Regions from separate parts of the Homo sapiens genome. Here regions 2, 3 and 4 are each linked to region 1. Evidence: promoter capture Hi-C in human tissues and cell types (Jung and others, 2019). All regions are on one chromosome and are shown on one strand. Each heading gives the region's core, a stretch centred on a gene start or on the middle of the fragment in contact. The rest is flanking DNA. Distances are from core to core; before and after follow the strand shown. Region 1 holds the start of DIP2C (disco interacting protein 2 homolog C). Region 2 overlaps DIP2C (disco interacting protein 2 homolog C). Region 3 overlaps DIP2C (disco interacting protein 2 homolog C). Region 4 overlaps DIP2C (disco interacting protein 2 homolog C).

Region 1 (2,875 bases), core at 168-2,667:
CCAACTGTGTCACGTTACAGGACACTGACACACCTCGCGGAACCCCACATCTGAAACTGAAAAACAGTACCATTTCCCGTCCCCAGAAGTCTGGAAAGGCAGTTGGCTGCACACCATGGCCCCTGCTCACTCCCTTCTTTGCCCTGAAAGTGTTAAAAAGGAAAACATAAAGTCAACACCAGCTCCTCCCTGCCGGTGAAAATTGGCACGAATGAGTTTACTTTCTGGCTGCCGGCCCTCACAAAACCGTTACCCAAAAAAAGTTCACCATGCTAAACTGCTCCAAATATAAATGTGAGACGCGCCGGCCCACCCCCACCCCACCCCACGTTACAGGAATGGCCTGACCAGGATGAGCCCAGAGACGGCTAAATGCACATCAAACATTTCAGATTTGGGAACTTCAGTGGTTTTGGGGAAAAGACCTGGCAAAGCCCGATCTGAAACTTATGACAGTTGAGCACATGATCTCCGCCATGAAGAGCAAATAAGAGGCGTACACAACCCTCCATAAGACCGCGGTGGCTGATCTGCCACAAACCCTCCTACGAGAGGACCAGGACGGCAAGGCCGGAGCCCGGCCCGGGGGGAGGTTGACGATTCCGCCCAGCCCTCCCCGCGCAGCGCCCGCGAACAATGGGGGTGGGATCCCCCGGGCCGCGCCAGGACCGCTGCACGGCCTGAGCCACCAGAGATCGAACCCGGGGTCCAACGACAAGTTTCGCATTGAAATCTGGCCGGGCGTTCCAGGCCGAACCCGCCAGCGAGGAGGTGGCGCGCACCGCGCTGCTGCACCAAGGACGCCGCGGCTCCAGCGCAGAGCGCACGGGAAGGCCGATCCCGCCGGGCCCGCTGCATCCTGCGTCCCCGCGCGGCGCCCAGGCCCCACAGACACCCCCAGGGCGCGGGGGGATCGCGGCCCCACAAACATCCCAGGGCGCGGGGGATCGCGGCCCCACAAACACCCCCAGAGCGCGAGGGGATCCCAGGCCCCACAGACACCCCCAGGGCGCGGGGAATCGCGGCCCCACAAACGTCCCCAGAGCGCGGGGGATCGCGGCCTCACAAACGTCCCTAGGGCGCGGGGTCTGGGGGTCCGGGGGACGCGCACGCTCCGGGCTGGGGTCGCACCTCCCCCTCCGGGCCCGGCCCCCGCCCCGCCGCAGGCCCCGCGCCCCCAGCCCTCCGCGCGCGGCCCTCCCCGGTGACAGCGCGGCCCGGCCCGGGGCGGGGGCCCGGTTACCTTCCGACAGCTCCAGCTCCAGCTCGGCCAGGCGCGCCCGCACCTCCAGGGGCAGCGCCATGCCCTCCAGGCTGCGGTCCGCCATGCTCCGCGGGCGCCGCGCCCCGCACGGCCTCCTCTTTGTTCGCAGGCGGAGGTCTCGGCGGCTCCTCGCGCCCGGCGGAACCGCACCGAGGAGGAGGCGGCGGCGCGGGCGCGGGAGGCGGGCGGCGGGCGCGCAGGGACCTCCCTCCCCTCGGCGCCTCCTCAGCGCGGCCCCGCCACGGCCGCCTCGCGCGCCCCCGCGCCCCACGGTCCCCGGCCCGCCCCGCGCGCGCTCGGCCCCTCCCCGCAGGCGCTGCGGACCCGGACCCGGCCCTGCTGCTCTCGGCCCCGGCCCGGCGGGAGCGTCTCTGCGCGCGCGCGTCACGGGGCCGCGGGGGCAGGGCGCGCGCGCGCGGGGCGCGAGGACGCGCAGGAGCGGGAGCGCGCGGGGGGGCGCGCGGCCGCGTCGGCGAAGCGCGCGCTCCCGGGGGCGCGCTCGGGGGCGGGTTGGGGGCTCGGGGCCCGCGGGGCGGGGCGGGGCGGGGCGGTCTTGTCTGTCCTGGGCTCTGCGCGTCCAGCGGAGCCTGCGGGCCCGGCCCCAGAGCCTGGTCCACCCGGCTCCCTGCGAAAATCACGTCCTGGAGCCGCAGCTTGACGTCTGCGCGAAAACTCGCAGTGCCCCGGGTCTTGGAGGGCTGGTTTTTTGTTAATGAACATTTTAAGAGGCGGAGACGGAGCGCTAGGCTGGAAGTTTCGAATGCAACGACCAGCAGATGACCTTGAGCGACTCTGAGCCTTTGCCTGGAGGGTCAGTGTCCCCATCTGTGAAAAGGGGATGGGAAGACAAGGTTGGGTCACCTAATCTCCAAATGCCAGGTGGGCCCGAAAAGCCTGGCTCCAGCCCTCCCGGAACAGGCTGCAGGCCCCAGGGTTCCCACCGTCCTTCTCCTTGTGGGGCCATCAGCTCCCAGCCTCAGTGCCACCTCGGCGAGGCTGAAGCCCCGTCTGTGCCTCTAGTCCTGACCATCTGGGGAGGCCCTCGCATCTCCAACCGTCCACTGAGCAAACTTCCCTGGAAGCCCCTAGACACCCCAAACGCCACAAACCCTAAATGAAGCCAGCTGCTTCCAGTGACTCTTAGTCACTGGAAGTTCTGCTTCTCAGAACCGCCCCCGTTGTCTTCATCATCACCTTCCTCTGTCTCCACACATCCTCCCCAGTCTGTTGCACAAAGCCCCGACGACCTGGCCTCCTTTTCATCCTTGTACCCCCTCTTCCCAGCCCGGCCCCTCCCTTAGGCCCAGAGCTTCCTAAAGACCTCCTCGCCTCCCCGTCCTCCACGGGACATTGGCCAGCGCTGGCTCCCGGAGGCCCAGCTGCACTCACTCCCCTTTCAGAGTGGGCCGCAGGAACACAGGTCCCCCACCTCACCCCCCTACCCCTACCCCCCACCACCCCCCCACCCCGCTTCGACCGGAGCCCCCACCAGCCGGGACCCACCTGCACGGCAGCCTTGCGGCCTCCACACTCCGGCTCCTGCAAACAACGCGGCTGACCCGCAGCACCTCTGCTCCCGGCCTCCACCCCGGAGAGCCTGCCCCTTCTCTG
Region 2 (2,875 bases), core at 258-2,757, 250 kb before region 1:
TGTAGTCACAGACTTAAAACAGCCATCTCATTCGTTTTGTGCAGTTTTACAGTTGTTTATGGCAGAGGTGTGATTTGGGTCCCTGTTATCTCATCATGGCTAGAAGCAGAAGTTTTGGCAAATTATTCTTGTATCTTTACATTTGAAAATTAAGGGAAAGTTTCACCCATGGAATATTAGCATTGTGACAATGCTAATGAGAGTTTCTCCAGAAACTATGATCCTGGTCAGCAGCCAGTCATTTCATAGAAGATAAACTTTAAGAATATTCTCTGAAGAGCAATGAAACTGAGATAAGATCTAACCACTGTTACCAACAACCAAGAAAAATAGGTAAGAAAATGCAGCTAAGATTTTGTTCAAGTAAGCAGGGTAATAAACATGCAGACTACTGCTAAGCACAAAATAGCTGGGAGTAAAAAATTTTTATGATATTGATATTTATGATTGTACAAAACTACCCCATGTGATATCACAAGGACTCCTGATGAAAATTTACAGAAGGTTTTTTATGGTTTATATAAAAATGCTAGTCAAATCCAAATATTTCACAAAAATAACATTTCAAATATTCTTTTGCATTTTGCAAAGACATCTGTACAATGAGGTTATTCATCACACATGACCCAGTAACATCTCTCAGTGGTTGGATTCAATATGAGAAATAAGCAAGCAAATAACCACACTGCTTCTTCCATTTCAAACTCATCGTTTCTCTTATAAAAAGTGGTCAAGAAAAATGTGTGTTGCCTTAAATAACCGGTTAGTGCCAAGAATTCGGTTTAAAATATTTCAAGTGGGTTATCCTTTTAAGTCCATTTTGTTAGTTACACAAAGAACACATACAAATAACATTTTTTTACCATAAGTTTTGGCAAATTATAACCATAAACTAAACAAACAGGATTAAGCATTTTTTTTTTTTGAGATAGGGTCTTCCTCTGTTGCCCAGGCTGCAGTGCAGTGGCATGACCATGGCTCACTGCAGCCTCAGCCTCCTTGGGCCCAAGTGATCCTCCCACCTCAGCCTCCCGAGCAGCTGGGACTATGCGCACACACCACCATGCCTGGCTGATTTCTGTATTTTTGGTGGAGACAGGGTTTTGGAATGTTGCCCAGGCTGGTCTCAAACTCCAGGACTCAAGCAATCTGCCTGCCTTGGCTTCCCAAAGTGCTGAGGCTGGAGGCATGAGCCACCATGCCTGGCCTAATCATTTTTAAAGAGTCTCTATTTATTATCGTTATTTTTTTCTAATTGAGATGGGGTCTTGCTGTGTTTCCCAGGCTGGAGTGCAGTGGTGCCATCTCAGCTCACGGCAACCTCTGCCTCCCAGGCTCAAGTGATTTTTCCACCTCAGCCTCCCAAGTAGCTGGGACTACAGGTGTACACCACCAGGCCCAGCTAATTTTTTGTACTTTTGGTGGAGACAAAATGTACAAAAGGCATTTTGGTACATTTTGCCATGTTTTCCGGGCTGGTCTTGAACTCTTGGGCTCAAGCCATACGCCTGCCCTGGACTCCCAAAGTGCAGGAGTTACAGGCATGAGCTACCGTGCCTAGCCCCTAATTACGTGCTGTTGCTTAATATTAAAATAAAGAAAAGGAGGAGCCCAAGGGAGCACGTTGGCAGAAAGAGCTCCCTTGCCAACAACCTTGCTAGCACGGCGTTCACTCCCTTGCCCGCTAGCATTTGCTAGCACGGCGTTCACTCCCTTGCCAACAACCTTGCTAGCACGGCGTTCACTCCCTTGCCCACTGGCATTTGCTAGCACGGCGTTCACTCTCTTGCCCGCTGGCACTGTGTTCTTTAGACGAAGATCACGCATGTGTAAATGAAAAACAACAACAACATAGGAACACCCTGTCTCCACAAAAACTTAAAAATTAGCTGGGTGTGGTGGCATGCACCTGTGGTCCCAGGTGCTTGAGAGGCTGAAGTGGGAGGACCGCCTGAGCCCAGGTGGTCACGGCTGCAGTGAGCCAAGAGCTGCAATCATGACACTGAATTCTGACCGTGGCGATAGAGCAAGACCCTGTCTCAAAACAAACAAAAAACAACAAAAACCCCAAATTATGCACTCTTTAAGTTCTGTCCTATCAATCTCAGTACCTTCATTAGTAAAGGTATAAAGGTGAATACTCAGGAGCTACTTGGAATAATGTGGGCATATGCTTGATCTCAGCTCTGATCTGATGCATGTCCTTCTGTCTCACTGCTTGCCAAGACCAAGCTAAACTTCAAAAGTAAAAATACTCCCAAAAAATTGTACATTTTCAACTATTCATATTGTACCTTAAGTTTCTCTTGTAGTGGAGAAAAAAATGGTGTCAAAGTGGTGTGTAGCTTCAAAGTGGGATGTAAGGTGATTTAGGTCCTTTGAGAAGACAAGCTTGCAACTGTCACATGAATAATGTTGGAATCAAAATCACAGAAACTAAACACCAAACAACGTAGGTTCAATCCATGTTTCTAACAAGTATCTGGATAACTACACTTTCTGCTTTACTTGGGTGGGAAGATCATGAGATGTAGTTTATAATTATTTGGGCAGAGAAAATAGAGAATTTGGGTAGTTATGTAAAATTCAAGATTAAATAAAAGCAGTATTACATAACACAAATATAAATGGGCTATTACCTTCAGTAATTCAGATCGGGGTTGGCACATCTGTGCACCAAATCTGGTCCGCTGTTCTTATAAAGTTTTATTGGTACACAGCCATACCCACTTGCTATCACCTATGGCTGCTTTCACACTCCAAGGGCAGAGTTGAGTGGTTGTGACAGACCTTATGGCCTGCAGGAACTAAAATACTATCTGGCAACTTGCAGGCAAAGTTTATGACCCGTGATTTGGGTAACTGCCTAAATTGT
Region 3 (2,875 bases), core at 195-2,694, 230 kb before region 1:
CACATCAGGGAACAGTGTCCTTCATCTGGGCTCTAGGGTCTTCCTCCCAGTCACATCAGGGAACGGCGTGCTGCACGTGGGCTCTAGGATCTTCCCACAATCACATCAGGGAACGGCGTGCTGCACGTGGGCTCTGGGATCTTCCTCCCAGTCACATCAGGGAACCACCTGCTGCACGTGAGCTCTAGGACCTTCCCACAGCCACATCAGGGAACTGCGTGCTGCACGTAGGCTCTAGGATCTTCCTCTCACAGTCACATCAGGGAACCACCTGCTGCACGTGAGCTCTAGGACCTTCCCAGTCACATCAGGGAACCAACCACCTGCTGCACGTGAGCTCTAGGACCTTCCCACAGTCACATCAGGGAACCACCTGCTGCACGTGAGCTCTAGTATCTTCCCACAGCCACATCAGGGAACCGCGTGCTGCACATGAGCTCTAGTATCTTCCTCCCACAGTCACATCAAGGGATCGCGTGCTGCACGTGGGCTCTAGGATCTTCCTCTCACAGTCACATCAGGGAACGGCATGCTGCACATGAGCTCTAGGATCTTCCTCTCCCAGTCTTGGGTGGAATGGGCACAACACAAGTCTCCAGGTTTTCTTTTCCAGAGTTGTTGGTTGGGGAAAAAAAGGTGATAACTAAAGCTAGAATCTAAGCTCTAACTGAGAGTTTATCAAGTAAAGGTAATGAAGTGCTTAAAATCGACTCCAATACATTCTAGGTGCTCAATAAATGCCAGCTCATTCACTTACTTCCCAAATCAAGCTCAAGTTCCAAAAGAAAGCTATTTATAAAGAGAAGATATGTACTATGATGAAGAGCTTTCATAAGAATTCATTACAAAGTAAGGTCATGGGTTTAGAAATGAAATGAGAAAATACATCCAGTAGAGGTTAAATGGCTGAGTAGATTAATTATTAACTAGGTCAATTATGTAAGCAATAACAAAATTATTTCTGGGCTGCTAAAATTCAGTCATTGATGGGGAGAATGGAACAAGTTGGAAAACACTCTTCAGGATATTATCCAGGAGAACTTCCCCAACCAACCAAGACAGGCCCACATTCAAATTGAGAAATACAGAGAATATCACGAAGATACTCCTTGAGAAAAGCAACCCCAAGACACATAATTGTCAGATTCACCAAGATTAAAATGAAGGAAAAAATGTTAAGGGCAGCCAGAGAGAAAGGTAGGGTTACCCACAAAGGGAAGCTCATCAGACTAACAGCGGATCTCTCTGCAGAAACCCGACATGCCAGAAGAGAGTGGGGGCCAATATTCAACATTCTTAAAGAATTTTCAACCCAGAATTTCCTATCCAGCCAAACTAAGCTTTGTAAGTGAAGGAGAAATATAATCATTTACAGACAAGCAGATGCTGAGAGATTCTGTCACCACCAGGTCTGCCTTACAAGAGCTCCTGAAGGAAGCACTAAATATGGAGACGAAAAACTGGTACCAGCCACTGCAAAAACATAACAAATTGTAAAGACCACTGACACTGTGAAGAAACTGCATCAACTAATGGGCAAAATAACCAGCTAGCATCATAATGACAGGATCGAATTCACACATAACAATATTAACCTTAAATGTAAATGGGCTAAATGCCCCCATTAAAAGACACAGACTGGCAAACTGGATAGAGTCAAGACCCGTTGGTGTGCTGTATTCAGGAGACCTATCTCATGTGCAAAGACACACATAGGCTCAAAATAAAGGATGGAGGAATATTTACAAAGCAAAAAAAGCATGAGTTGCAATCCTGGTCTCTGATAAAACATACTTTAAACCAACAAAGATCAAAAAAGACAAAGAAGGGCATTACACAATGGCAAAGGGATCAATACAACAAGAAGGGCCAACTATCCTAAATATATACATACCCAATACAGGAGCACCCAGATTCATAAAGCAAGTTCTTAGATACCTACCAAGAGACTTAGACTCCCACACAGTAACAGTGGGAGGCTTTAACACCCCAACGTCAGTATTAGACAGATTGAGACAGAAAATTAACAAGGATATTCAGGACTTGAACTCAGCTCTGGGCCAAGCGGACCTAATAGACATCTACAAAACTCTCCACCCCAAATCAATAGGATATACCTTCTTCTCAGCACCAAATTGCACCTATTCTAAAACTGACCACATAATTGGAAGTAAAACACTCAACAAATGCAAAAGGATGGAAATCATAACAAACAGTCTCTCAGACTACAGTGCAATCAAATTAGAACTCACAGTTAAGAAACTCACTCAAAACTGCACAAATACATGGAAACTGAACAACCTGCTCCTGAATGACTACTGGGTAAATAATGAAATTAAGGCAGAAATAAATAAGTTCTTTGAAACCAATGAGAACAAAAGACAATGTACCAGAATCTCTGGGACACAGATAAAGAGGTGTGTAGAGGGAAATTTATAGCACTAAATGCCCACAAGAAAAAGCAGGAAAGATCTAAAATCGATACCCTAACATCATAATTAAAAGAACTAGAGAAGAAAGAGCAAACAAATTCAAAAGCTAGCAGAAGACAAGAAATAACTAAGATCAGAGCAGAAATGAAGGAGACAGAGACACGAAAAACTCTTCAAAAAAATCAATGAATCCAGGAGCTGGTTTTTGGAAAAGATCAACAAAATAGATAGACCACTAGCCAGACAAAGAAGAAAAGAGAGAAGAATCAAATAGACACAATAAGAAATGATAAAGGGGATATCACCACTGATCCCACAGAAATACAAACTACCAGAGAATACTGTAAACATCTCTATGCAAATAAACTAGAAAATCTAGAAGAAATGGATAAATTCCAGGACACATACACCCTCTCAAGACTAAACCAGGTAGAAGCTGAATC
Region 4 (2,875 bases), core at 125-2,624, 170 kb before region 1:
ACAAGCTCGTTTCCACCTGATGCAAAGGACCCTGGAGTAAGGATGCAGGGACTGTGTATGACCCACACACTCGTTTCCACCTGAGCAAAGGACCCTGGAGTGAGGATGCAGGGACTCTGTGTGACCCACACACTCGTTTCTACCGGATGCAAAGGACCCTGGAGTGACGATGCAGGGACTCTGTGTCACCCACACACTCGTTTCTACCGGATGCAAAGGACCCTGGAGTGAAGATGCAGGGGCTCTGTGTCACCCACACACTCGTTTCTACTGGATGCAAAGGACCCTGGAGTGAGGATGCAGGGACTCTGTGTCACCCACACACTCGTTTCTACCTGAGCAAAGGACCCTGGAGTGAGGATGCAGGGACTCTGCATGACCCACACGCTCGTTTCCACATGACACAAAGGACCCTGGAGTGAGGATGCAGGGACTCTGTGTGACCCGCACACTCGTTTCTACCGGATGCAAAGGACCCTGGAGTGACGATGCAGGGACTCTGTGTCACCCACACACTCGTTTCTACTGGATGCAAAGGACCCTGGAGTGAAGATGCAGGGACTCTGTGTGACCAACACGCCCGTTTCCACCTGACGCAAAGGACCCTGGAGCGAGGATGCAGGGACTGCTCTGAGTTACCAGCACACTTGTCGCTTTTACACATAAAGAACCCTGTGACTCTGTCCCAGGACCTTTTAGCCTAGACCTAAAAATTCGCAGCCCAGGAAACCCAAAGCATTTTAGGAACCTGAGGGGTGGGCCAAGGGGATCTCAGAGTTTGATGCTGGCTGTGGGGTCAGCAAAGGGTGGCTGGGGCTTCCCATAAGCACTCCCAGGAGGCCGTGCAATGGCCCGAGGCTGGTTCCACCTCCCGCCCTCAGTTCTCACGCCCAGCCGTGACTGGAGCACCCCTTCAGGAAGGAGTCCCTGGCTCCAGGCCCTAACGTCCATGTCAAGGCCCCTAGTGGGGCAGCTTCTACCCCAGGGAGGCTGGAACTGGAGGCAGCCTGGAGCTCCAGGCAATCCTGGCAACCACCTGCTTCTTGAAGTGGCTGCAGAAAAACCCCTGCTTCCAAACCCTGGTACAGACTGTGTGAGGCCTGGAACGCGGGAGGCACACTTCACAGGGTCCCTGCTCAGATGCAAAAAGCAAGGCTAACAGCAGGAAAATTATTTAATTACCTTCATGGTCATCAAGTAAAATCAGTCACTCAGACCTATATGTGACTGGAAGTATACACATTATAGAAGTGTATATACATGTAAATATATACATGCTTATTTTCCTCTACTTTTATATACCTTACATATATATGTGTATATGTGCAAATGTATAAAACATGGACGATAAACCATAGTTGAGATTTCAAATCTCAAAGATCTCAGAAGCAAATTACTATCCTTAAATTCTATACAAAGACATAACATCTTACATTCTTGCAAACAAAACATTCTCTAAGTATTAGCGTTTTATTTTAAAAACAAAGAATGCATTGCACTCTCGCAATTTCTTATTTCAAATCACTTTCACTGAGAGATTCTATAACTTGCTACCTTGAATACTTCCAACAATAATAGCTCATTAGTTTAAGCATTAGGGAGTTCATTTTTAAATACCATCACTGATTAAGAAAAACTGCTCTACAGGACTTTCGCTATTTTAAAGCGTAATGATGTCCACCTCTCTATACTCAAGAACAGGAAGATGCCCGTGCAGATGTTTCCAAAGCAATTCAGAGGAGATGGTCTAGACACACAGTTTAAGACAATCACAATTTCAAAAAAAAAAAAAAAAGAATCACATTTTCAAGGTCAGAAGATCAAGACCAAATCCAGGATATTCTGAAGGGTTCAACTTACATTTAAATTATCTCATGTATTTGTAGTTTGGATGGAACATGACATCCTTAAAGACAACCAAATCTAAAATACAGAAAAGCATTCTTAAATGCATCACAGCCCTTAAAACCCACAGCATATCTCTTTTGTTTAAATGTACTTAATTTTATCACATTTTCATTTTATAATTTCAAAATTTCTAAAGCTCCTAACGCCTCAAACCGAGATAGAATTTGACTTCAGCAATTTCCAAGTCACAAGCAGGTTGTATGTCCACAGCTATTCGGAATGTGGTTTCTGATAGAAGCTTTTATGAACACACATGAAATCCCTCTGGATTGCAAAGGCTGAGACTCAGCGTATCTCAGAATGAAAATACATACATTTGTGATGGACAGCAGAACACAGTACAGATACTAATTAGTAAAACAACAGCAAAGTCTACGGCACTTCTCATACAGAACAAATACAAAGTGTTTGAGGAAAAGTCTTTCTAACTGTAAAAATTCGAGCTGATTGGAACAAAGAAGATTCTGAATATGATCTTGGCTGCTTTACAAGACTTCAGAATTTTCCTCATCTGCAAGTGAAAATGAACCTCCTGCTTGCCCACTGAGGACAGGGAGAGAACAGGGTAGGATAACAGGCCTTTGAATGCTTCGTAGGTGGAGAAAGGAAGACAGGCCAGCCCCGTACACCCATCAGCACACCCACACCAGCTGTGCAGGTGACTCAGCTAACCCTGCGATGGCCAGGCATCTCAATGAGACAGCCGGGCCTGAGTGACCTGCCAAGAGACATGATGGCCAAGCCTGGATGGAATCCCTGGAGGGTAGTCAACCCAGGGCCTCTCAGGTTTTGTCCCAGCAGGTCTGTGCCCAGGAATCTGCATTTCCAAGTAGCCCAGGTGAGCTGCTGCCCAGAGGCCCTCACCAGTCATGGCTCACACAGGCAGTGGAACCCCCGCACACCACCTCCTTCTGCAACGCCTGGCGTGGATTTTCCTTAATTGCCGATGCTGCGCTCCTCTGTGCCT

The links. The method cuts DNA at HindIII sites, captures the fragments that hold promoters and counts their contacts. A contact is called where the count stands out against the background at its distance.
Region 2: a fragment that was not itself captured here is called in contact with the fragment with the promoter of DIP2C in region 1 in 2 of the 25 tissues and cell types used here (H1 embryonic stem cells and dorsolateral prefrontal cortex).
Region 3: a fragment that was not itself captured here is called in contact with the fragment with the promoter of DIP2C in region 1 in 2 of the 25 tissues and cell types used here (dorsolateral prefrontal cortex and hippocampus).
Region 4: a contact is called between a fragment that was not itself captured here and the fragment with the promoter of DIP2C in region 1, in 1 of the 25 tissues and cell types used here (IMR-90 fibroblasts).

What each region holds. Positions count from the first base shown.
Region 1 is chr10:688,251-691,125 of GRCh38, forward strand. DIP2C (disco interacting protein 2 homolog C) reads right to left here and starts at 1,418. Exons shown (of 37, transcript NM_014974.3): 1 at 1,244-1,418. The coding sequence starts at 1,328. RefSeq lists an enhancer at 1,793-2,728. The HindIII fragment of the contact is 17,538 bases long and covers 1-2,875 here.
Region 2 is chr10:437,583-440,457 of GRCh38, forward strand. The region is part of intron 4 of DIP2C (disco interacting protein 2 homolog C); the gene reads right to left. Among named protein-coding and RNA genes, the nearest start is that of DIP2C-AS2, 190 kb to the right of the region's middle. The HindIII fragment of the contact is 5,559 bases long and covers 1-2,875 here.
Region 3 is chr10:459,613-462,487 of GRCh38, forward strand. The region is part of intron 3 of DIP2C (disco interacting protein 2 homolog C); the gene reads right to left. Among named protein-coding and RNA genes, the nearest start is that of DIP2C-AS2, 170 kb to the right of the region's middle. The HindIII fragment of the contact is 4,017 bases long and covers 1-2,875 here.
Region 4 is chr10:523,189-526,063 of GRCh38, forward strand. The region is part of intron 1 of DIP2C (disco interacting protein 2 homolog C); the gene reads right to left. Among named protein-coding and RNA genes, the nearest start is that of DIP2C-AS2, 100 kb to the right of the region's middle. RefSeq lists an enhancer at 450-950. The HindIII fragment of the contact is 5,565 bases long and covers 1-2,875 here.